3 separate regions of the Homo sapiens genome follow, and regions 1 and 2 are each linked to region 3. The links are contacts of gene promoters, found by promoter capture Hi-C in blood cells and fetal thymus (Javierre and others, 2016). All regions are on one chromosome and are shown on one strand. The core of a region is centred on a gene start or on the middle of the fragment in contact, and the rest is flanking DNA. Distances in the headings are between cores, read along the strand shown. Region 1 overlaps KCNMA1 (potassium calcium-activated channel subfamily M alpha 1). Region 2 overlaps KCNMA1 (potassium calcium-activated channel subfamily M alpha 1). Region 3 holds the start of ZNF503-AS2 (ZNF503 antisense RNA 2).

Region 1 (3,138 bases), core at 420-2,919, 1.6 Mb before region 3:
TGGATTATTAAAATAGCTTTGGAAGCATGTATCATAACCTACTAAATTTATTTAGCGTTTTCAGGGAAGTACCATATAATGCATGCTCTAATATGGGTCTTCCTGGATAATACCAAGTAGCTGACATGGCACTTTCTCCCCCATCTAAGACTCCTACACCATTAACATATATCAAGTCTCTTTTGATGTCATCACTGCTAATATTTCTCTTCTTAGCTTTAAGGTAACTGCTGTGCATTCTGAGTTTCAGGGTGCTTTCCTCCTAGTCTGTGTTGCAGTCAACTATAAGAATCCAAAGATCTTATTTTTCCTTCTTGATATTACAGCTTTAGCCTGAATTGTGGGGGTGGGGAGAGGAGGACTAGAATTTTGCCGCTGATGCCCCTGGGTGACAGGCTGGGTTTGCATCTGCTAATTATCAAGCAGTTCTCTTAAAAAGAAGCATGATGCAGGCTAATACATCTGCAAAGCTTATTAGTGGGTGTCTTTGGGCAAGAGCAGTAGAGTGTGCTGTGGTGTTTCTAAGTGAAGCTTCACATTGCTTAGCAATCTGTGTGGTTTAGACATTTGGAAAACAGCTTTTGGTTTCCAATCCCCTGTGCTGCCCTCCATCCCTGCCCCGCTGCTGCATCATCAGAGATTTCATTCAATGGCAACCTCCTCCTTCATTCCGGGGCTCTCCTCCAACCTCACCAGCCCCGGTGCTCCTGTCTTCATGGGTTGAAAAAGGACCCCGTTGGCACAGCCCCACAAGCCCTCCCTCCTGGCAGTTGGAGGGATAAGAGCTGAGTTGGGCTGGGGATTATTGAGCCAGCATGCACCAATGTGCCCCGATCTGATTGAAACATTGGCTGTCAAGGCCTTGAATCCTTGCCTCTTTTCAACGCTCTTTCTCTGGTATGCAGGGGTTAGGAACCAGCTAAGTTGGTTCATCTGGAGAAGCAGCAGGCTGGCAGTTATGCTGACATTTCAAATACAACTTTATTTCTGATTTTGGTTACAACAAAACGCAGTCTATTACTGGGCAAAGCAAAGTAACCAAAATTAACTCTAAGAATAATGATAAGTATTTTTTTTGGTATACAGATAAATCATGATTTCTTTTTTTTTTTTTTTTTTCTTATGGCAGGGTGTTTACAAACTGTTTTAGTCTGTTTAAAGTGTATGTTCAAAGGCTGGAGTGTAAAGAGGTGTTGCCTTCACCTTCTCTAAGCCGGCCTCTTTGACTAACACATTTGGTCTTTGTCATTGGGTCCTAAAAGACAGCCATGAATTCCTAGTGAGTGACTGAGCCTTGAGTGTGTGTCCTTTGATATTTTGCCTGTATTGCACAGTCTGCCCTCAAACTGTTCATAATCTCATGAGCTGCCTGTATTTCCAGTTGAAGATGAGCAGCCGTCAACACTATCACCAAAAAAAAAGCAACGGAATGGAGGCATGCGGAACTCACCCAACACCTCGCCTAAGCTGATGAGGTAAGGAGAGGGGCTGGTTGCCCACGGTTTCCCTCTTAGCCCTTCTCTTCCTCCCCTCGCCCTCTCCTCACCCTGCCAGGCCCAGAGTCTCCCCTCCCCAGCAAGCCCGGGGTGGGGGAGGGGAGCGAGATCGTTAGATGGCTTCTTAAAGGCTGGAGTATTTATTCTGTCAGCTTGTCAGCAGTTAATGATAGAGCTGAAAAAATTCTGTCATGAAAAACAGTTTGAAAAGCTGTTTGAAAAATACATAGGCTTTAAAGTCTTAGCTGTCACCATGTCCTGTCTGTGTGTAGTTCCTAAACAGCAGTGGCACTAATGATGGCGGTAACCAATCAGAGAAACTCGTGTGGTTAGTTTGCCTGCGGCAGTCTCTTTCTGCTGGAGTCCCTCCGAGGACTGTTTTCTGTACTTAAGGCCATATGTGAGATGTATCATCACAATCAAAAATGAACCTGAAGATTACCTTCCTTTTATCCTGTCGATTGAAATCAAATTTCTGTTAATTGATTTTGACTGATAAGAAAAAGTCTAATAATCTGTGGACTTGCCAAAGCAAAGTTCAAAAGTAATCCAGTTCTGCTCAGGCTAAAAGCAATATTAATTATGAAATACAGCATGCATGTACATGTTCCCTCCTTTCCTCCCTTCCTTCCTTCCTTCCTTCCTTCCTTCCCTCCTTCCTTCCTTCCCTTCTTCCCCCTCCCTCCCTCCCTTCCTCCTTCTCTCTCTTTCTCCCTCACTTCTTTCTTGACTATGGCTTCCTCTGGTAAATAGCAAGTGAAGTCAAATTTCAACAGCGTTCTGCAGTTTCTTCTTCTTGGCCTATCTGTCTTTTATCTCCCCTTTTTGTCTTCAATTCATCTGCCAATCCCAGCATTTTTTTCCTCCGACATCCTGACTCTCTACCACCCAAATGAAACAGGAGTGATTTCAGATTTGCACTGCTCACCCTATGTGGTTTCTGCTCTGGAAATGCCTGCCATCTTGACATTAGTTTTGTCTTTTCATGGCCACCGGCTTTGATTTTTGAAATAGAATAGTGGTGATTTCCACTCCCCATATTCAATAACATTTGCATGTTCCTGGCCCTCCACATCCACCTTTCTGGAAAATAGGCAAGGGCAGTCTTTCTTCATGTGGTTGAGGACACAGGTTTTCCGTGGAAGACTCACCCTGCCCAACTCCTTTTCCATATCACCATCTATTCCTGTTAAATGTTTCCTTAAAAGTTCTCTGCCTTCCACTTCACCCAGCCTTCCTTGGGTTTGGCTGATTTGCATGCTTGTTTACAGTTTATGAGGAGGAATAAAATGTGCCAACTGCCAAGCTTTTCGTTTTTATGATGCCAGTGTCATGCTAGCATTCATTTCCTATTTACTCACCTTTAGGTAATCACCTTATCTAATTCTAATAGTTATTCCCATTTAAAGTAGAGAAAAGCCCAGCCACTTTCCTTCACCTAAATTTAGAGAAGCAAATAAATAAATAAAGAGAAGTCTGAAAAATCTGAAACCTTTGGAGCCAAATTCCCTGTCCCTGTTTGCTATGTAAAGTATGGCTCATTTCTTTGATCTTGAGTAATAATAATTCTGAGGAGTTATACTGTTTTCATATGCTTCAAAGCTGTGTCAAAGTTTTGCTGCTTAAGGGTACTTCTTTATTC
Region 2 (2,852 bases), core at 80-2,579, 1.7 Mb before region 3:
ATTCTTACCCTCGTTCTCTCCCTTTCCCCTCCTGCCTTCCTGCCTTCCTGCCTTCTCTCCTTCTCTCCCTTCTTGCCTTCATGCCTTCTTTCCTTCCTTCCTTCCTTCCTTCCTATTTTCTCTATCACTGTACTCAATCCAGTGGGAATACAGGCAAAAGAGCATTTGCATACTGAAGGGAATGCAAATTGTGAGGACAAGTTGGTAAGATGTATCACAAGTCTTGAAAGTGTGTGCTTGAGTCCTAATGTCTGAATTGGAAATGACTGGCTGAAGTCTGTACAGGGCAGTGGCTAGAAGCTTGGGCTTTGTGGAGTTTGTCACATTTGTGGTGAAACTTGGCTCTGTTGCTTTCAAACTATGCTGGATACACTGTCTCATTTGTGTCTCCTTAGCTATTTTCTTCTGTGTACGTATTTTTTAAAAAAGATATAGTTAGAAGTTTTAGTGTGTGTAAGTAAATAAACATACTAGATATCATCAATAATAATAGATTAATGTCATTGTCAACATCATCATTTCACCAGTAATTTAAAATAATAGTAACACTATATGTACTCTGTGTGTGTGTGTGTGTGTGTGTGTGTGTGTGTGTGTGTGTGTGTGTGTTTGTGTGTGTGTTTCTGGGCTTTCTAGTCCAGTTTGATGACTTTTCTGTGGCGTGTGTACACTCCTACGCTATTGTAATTCTTCATATGATGAAATTACCATTTACTGAGTGCCTCCAGTATGCCCACATGGACTCTTAGAATGCTCGGTCTTCTGGTATGCAGATCACCAGGGTAGGATTTAATGCCCATGCCTGTGAGGGAATAAGGGTGGAGAACTCAGGCTGGCTGCAGCTGCCTGGGAAGCCTCAACCCATCCCACAGGAAAAAGTATCCCAAATTGAGGCAAGGCAGCTGACCTTTGTCCCTACATCAGCCAGCATTTGTGTGTGGTGGTGGGGGGGGGGTGGGGGGGTGGGGGGCACCACCACTGACAGGGGATGTAGCCCCAGGTGAGGCAGCTCCTTGTAGCAGAGGGCAGTTCTCATGAAGGGACTAGCTCTGAGCCTTTAGCAGGTCACTCTTCAAGAGCCCAGGACAAATAAGGTCCCTGAAGAGGGGATTTGGGCTGTACCCTACAGCATCTGCTATAGCTCATGTCTTTTATTCATTTAATGCAGTCTTGGATATGATACCCTAGTATTTTATTTAGGATTATTGTTGTTAGTCATTAGTGTGATAAGCTTGCCATTTAAGAAAAAATGCAAGGGAACTTGTGTCCAGGTAATGCCAACTTTCTAAACCAATACAGAGCATGGAAAAACACAGATAAGTCCATTTTTAAGAATTGATCATATAATAGAGAATAGATAGAGAAGTTACTATTTTTTGAAACTGTAAAAATCTCACTTGTAAAACTCTCTGAACCTGGAAGCTTTTGGGGAGGGCATGTAATTCCTGGCTTTTGGTATATACACATTTTCTTCTTCACAACTCTATTATAGCTATTTTGTGTTACCTTAGAAAATCATTTATTTCAGAGATTTTATAGAATAAAAATAATAAAAGATATTATAAAATAGAGAAGATGAATAATTGTCACCAAAGAGTTCCCCCTCTCACCTCTCTTATCTTGGTCTCCTCTCTTAGCCTGAAGTCGCTGTCTGTAGTCTTCTGGGCTCTTTCTGGGTATAGCCAGAGTGGTCATTCGTTAAGGCTTTTCCCTGATGAGGCTACTTTCTACTTCCCAAGAGTGCAGCCCTGACCTCTCTCAGGGGACCCCGCAGGGCTTCTGGCTTTTCCCTTTAGTAGGCAACATATAGTCTCAGAATTCTGAATGTGGATTATCTAACCTTTAACTCCGCCGTCTAATTATTTCTCAAAACTTTGATTCACTCATTCAGTTCAAACAAGGATTTATTGAGCCTTCACCTTATGCCAGACACTATGTTCAATGCTGGAAATATAGCCCTGAACAAAACAGACATCAGCTCCTCCCCTCATAGAGCTGATGCTAAAGAGAGGAAGGCAGAAAGTAACCACATAACCGAGGTGCTAGTGCTTCATGCTGAGGAGAAAAGTGAAGCAGGAAAGAGGATAGGGAGTTGCACGGGTGGTGTGGGAGGAGTTGCATGTTTAGGTCGGGTAGCCAGGGAAAGTCACGCTGATCAAGGGACATTGAGTAAGAACCCAAAGGAGGTGAGGGAGTATGCCATGTGGGCATCTGGCAAACAGCATTCCAGGCAGAGAGGCTGCATGTGCAGAGGCCCTGGGGCAGTAGCATACCTGTGTGTTCAAGTGTCACTGAAGACATCTGCCAGATCAGCGGACAGTAGTAGGAGTGACAGTAGGAAGCCATCAGATCCAAAAGGAGATAGTGCTGGTGGTGGGATGGTGTTGCTTTAGGCCTTTGAAAGACTTTGACTTTTACTCTGTGTGGAATGGGTGGCATTGGAGGCTTCTGAGCAGAGAACACAAGGGGTCCAGGGCAGAAAGCGGTTAGGAAGCTGATATGGTTTGGCTGTGTCCCTACCCAAATCTCATCTTGAATTGTAGTTCCCATAATACCCCTATGTTGTAGGAGGGGCCCTGTGGAAGGTAATTGAATCATGGGGGCAGTTACCCCCATGCTGCTGTTCTCGTGATAGTGAGTTCTCACGAAATCTGATGGTTTTATAAGGGGCTTTTCCCTCTTATGCTCAACACTTCTCCTTCCTGCCACCATGTGAAGTAGGATGTGTTTGCTTCCCCTTCTGCCATGACTGTAAGTTTCCTGAGGCTTCTCCAGCCCTGTGGAATTGAGTCAATTAAACCTCTTTCCTTTATAAATTACCCAGTCTCGGGTATGTCTTTATTAGCAGAGTG
Region 3 (3,106 bases), core at 319-2,818:
TGGCAGCCTGACCTCCGCACGCAACACGCCCCGCGAGGACTCGCGGCGGCGGGGTGGGGTGGCGGGAAATCTCCCGTGTTAGAAGTTGCCGCCGCTGGTCTCGGGTACCCGGAGCCGCGCCCGAACTCCGCGACCCCAACAGACCGAGGCTCCCAGAGGTGGAAGGGCGTCTCTCCGACACCGAGAGGGCAGGCGCACACTCCAGGCCTGCGCGCCCCTCTCGGCGCCCTGGGCGCACCTGCGCACTTTACTCTCGCTATTCATTTTCCTGACACCGTGCGCCTCTTTCATTCTTTTTCTTAGAGCCCCCACCCCACCCCCATCCCAGGAGGCCGCTCCTCTTTTCCCCTCCTCCAGTTCCCTCTCAATCTCCTCCTTCCTCTCCGTCTCTCTCTCCCTCTCTCTTTTTCCCTTCAAGTCGCACCCGCCTTGTAATCAGCAACAAAAGCTGACATAAATCACGGGAGGATTGACAAGAGCTGACAAATAACTGATTGATTGCGGTCGAGGAACATTGACAATTGATGGAGGGGTGGAGATGCCCAAAGAAGGGGGGGAGGGAGGAAAACAGGGTGGGAGAGTAAGAATGGGGGGTTGGGGGACAGACTGAGGGTGAAACAGAGGAAACATGTGACCCCCGCTGCTGCCCCAATCTACGCGTCCCCGGGCGTCACGTGGCCGGGAAGGGCGGAGAGCCCAGCGCTCCTCGCGGTGTTGAGCCGCCGCCGCTGCGACTGCCCATCTAGCTTCTGGTTTCTCCGCCGCGGAATCTGAGGAAATTAGAGCGGGCGGGCGGGCTTCTTCCAGCTCCGGCTCCCCACCTTGCCTTCTTACCCTGGTGGCTGCGCTGCGCCGCGCGGGATCTCGATTACTGCGAAGGAAAAAACACTGGGTGTGCAGGTTCCCTTCGCCCCTGGAGTTGACAGTCCGGCCGGTGTCCACACTCCCACCGGTGCTCCTTCTGGACACCCCCCGCAGTCTGTTCCTCACGCGCACCCCCCTTCAAAAGAAGGTTTCAGTTTATTTTCGAGCTGGGGAAAGGAAGAACGACGAGGAGGAAAAAAGAGGGAGGCGGCGGATGGCAAACGTAGAATAAATGTCCATCTCGTCCTCCCAGCGAAATCGAGGGAGGGGACACACAGGGGGGCGGCGAAGAGGGAGCTGCCCATTAAAACCGGCACTGAGAGTCCTGGCAGCGGCGGCGGCGGCGGCGCGGGACGCGTCACATCCCCTTGACCCTCCAATCACCTCGGGCTCCCATTTGATTGGAAGGCGGCAAAGGCTTTAATCTCCCCCTTGGTGCAGCTGCTTTTGAAGTGAGTTTCCTCGCCAGAGCCCCGGCTGGACACGCAGCGGCTCGCATCGCAGAGCGCAGCGCCGGCGCGGGGCCGCGAGAACGCAGCGCAGGGGAGCAGCCCGAGGCGGACACCGCGAGCCGCCCGGCACTCCCGCAGTCCAGCCGGCTCCTCTAGCCCGGCCACGGCTCCGCTGCGGGCCACCCAGGATTACTCGCGTCTGGCTCCAGGCGCCGAGAAGGCGCGCTGGGCGCCCGTGGCCGCCGCGCCAGCTCCTCCTCCTCCCGCTGCTCCTGCTCCCGGGGCGAGCGCGCAGCCCCGAGCCCGCCCCGCGCCTCCCGGAGCCCTCCCCCCCGCTGCTCCCATGCGCGCGGGTGGGTCATGAGCACAGCGCCCTCGCTTTCTGCCCTAAGAAGCAGTAAGCACAGCGGCGGCGGCGGCGGCGGAGGCGGAGGCGGCGGTGCAGACCCTGCCTGGACCAGCGCGCTCTCTGGAAATAGCTCCGGCCCCGGCCCAGGCTCGTCCCCGGCCGGCAGCACCAAGCCTTTTGTGCACGCCGTGCCCCCCTCTGACCCCCTGCGCCAGGCCAACCGCCTGCCAATCAAGGTGCTGAAGATGCTGACGGCACGAACTGGCCACATTTTGCACCCCGAGTACCTGCAGCCCCTGCCTTCCACGCCGGTCAGCCCCATCGAGGTAAGGACCCTCTCTCTGGATCGCACTGGGACCACTACCCTGGCTGCCACCCTAGGGCTTTCTTTTTCTCGGGATCTGGGCGGAGGTGGGGGGGTCGGAGTGATTCAGCTCCCGAATGGGGGAAGAGGCTACTGCTTCCGTACCTCAAAACTAGGGCGGAAAAGGGGGAGGAAGTGGAATGGGGCGTGCATGCTAGGGAGCAAGGCTGCCAATACTTGTTTCTCCTTTCGATATGAAAGCCCCTACCCCGACCCAGGCCCCTTCACTCGGCACCGAAGGCAGGCGGAGGTCTGAAATACGGTTCCAAAGTCGCCGTCCTTCGTATCCGCAGAAGCCAGTGTGTGCACACAGCCTCTGAGGCGCCAGCCGCCCGAGCCCTTACTCTGAAGAATTAAGGAGTGTTTGTGGGGAGGGGGTACAGTTCTGGGTCTAGGAACCGAAAACCAAAACATTTTGCTCTTTAAAAATCTAGTTAGCGCTCAGAGAGGGCAGGAAAGATGCTGCTGGGGGTGGTGGTTGGGCGGGGGGAGCAATCTGCTGCCTTTCCCAACGGCGAGAATGTTTGTGAGTGGGTGTTGAAGAGGGGGTGCCGCCTAGAATTGCGCCTTGGGGCTGGGAGGATCTTCGTGGGCTGTTGCGGAGAGGCATTTGAACCCCAGAAGCCAGGATTCTAAAGGGTTTCCACTTCTTTCTCTGTGTGACGCTCCCCCCCCATCGTCTGACCCCGCAGCTCGATGCCAAGAAGAGCCCGCTGGCGCTGTTGGCGCAAACATGTTCGCAGATCGGGAAGCCCGACCCCTCGCCCTCCTCCAAACTCTCCTCGGTTGCCTCCAACGGGGGCGGCGCGGGCGGTGCCGGCGGCGGTGCTGCGGGCGACAAGGACACCAAATCGGGCCCCCTGAAGCTGAGCGACATCGGCGTGGAGGACAAGTCGAGTTTCAAGCCGTACTCCAAACCCGGCTCGGATAAGAAGGAGCCGGGAGGCGGCGGTGGAGGCGGTGGCGGTGGCGGGGGCGGCGGCGGGGGTGTTTCGTCGGAGAAGTCGGGATTCCGGGTACCGAGCGCCACCTGCCAGCCATTCACGCCCAGGACAGGCAGCCCGAGCTCCAGCGCCT

The links. The method cuts DNA at HindIII sites, captures the fragments that hold promoters and counts their contacts. A CHiCAGO score of 5 or more calls a contact.
Region 1: a contact is called between a fragment that was not itself captured here and the fragment with the promoter of ZNF503-AS2 in region 3, in 1 of 17 cell types (naive B cells). The highest score is 5.4, in naive B cells.
Region 2: a contact is called between a fragment that was not itself captured here and the fragment with the promoter of ZNF503-AS2 in region 3, in 1 of 17 cell types (naive CD8 T cells). The highest score is 6.7, in naive CD8 T cells.

Annotation. Positions count from the first base shown.
Region 1 is chr10:76,968,311-76,971,448 of GRCh38, reverse strand. It overlaps KCNMA1 (potassium calcium-activated channel subfamily M alpha 1), which reads left to right. Exons shown (of 28, transcript NM_001161352.2): 20 at 1,382-1,475. All of the region lies in intron 2 of KCNMA1-AS1 (KCNMA1 antisense RNA 1), which reads right to left. Among named protein-coding and RNA genes, the nearest start is that of KCNMA1-AS1, 82 kb to the right of the region's middle. The HindIII fragment of the contact is 2,271 bases long and covers 534-2,804 here.
Region 2 is chr10:77,124,829-77,127,680 of GRCh38, reverse strand. All of the region lies in intron 5 of KCNMA1 (potassium calcium-activated channel subfamily M alpha 1), which reads left to right. Among named protein-coding and RNA genes, the nearest start is that of KCNMA1-AS2, 15 kb to the left of the region's middle. The HindIII fragment of the contact is 191 bases long and covers 1,234-1,424 here.
Region 3 is chr10:75,399,990-75,403,095 of GRCh38, reverse strand. It overlaps ZNF503-AS2 (ZNF503 antisense RNA 2), which reads right to left and starts at 1,568. Exons shown (of 2, transcript NR_024421.1): 1 at 835-1,568. It overlaps ZNF503 (zinc finger protein 503), which reads left to right and starts at 1,332. Exons shown (of 2, transcript NM_032772.6): 1 at 1,332-1,991; 2 at 2,722-3,106. The coding sequence starts at 1,677. RefSeq lists an enhancer at 1,830-2,330. The HindIII fragment of the contact is 15,649 bases long and covers 1-3,106 here.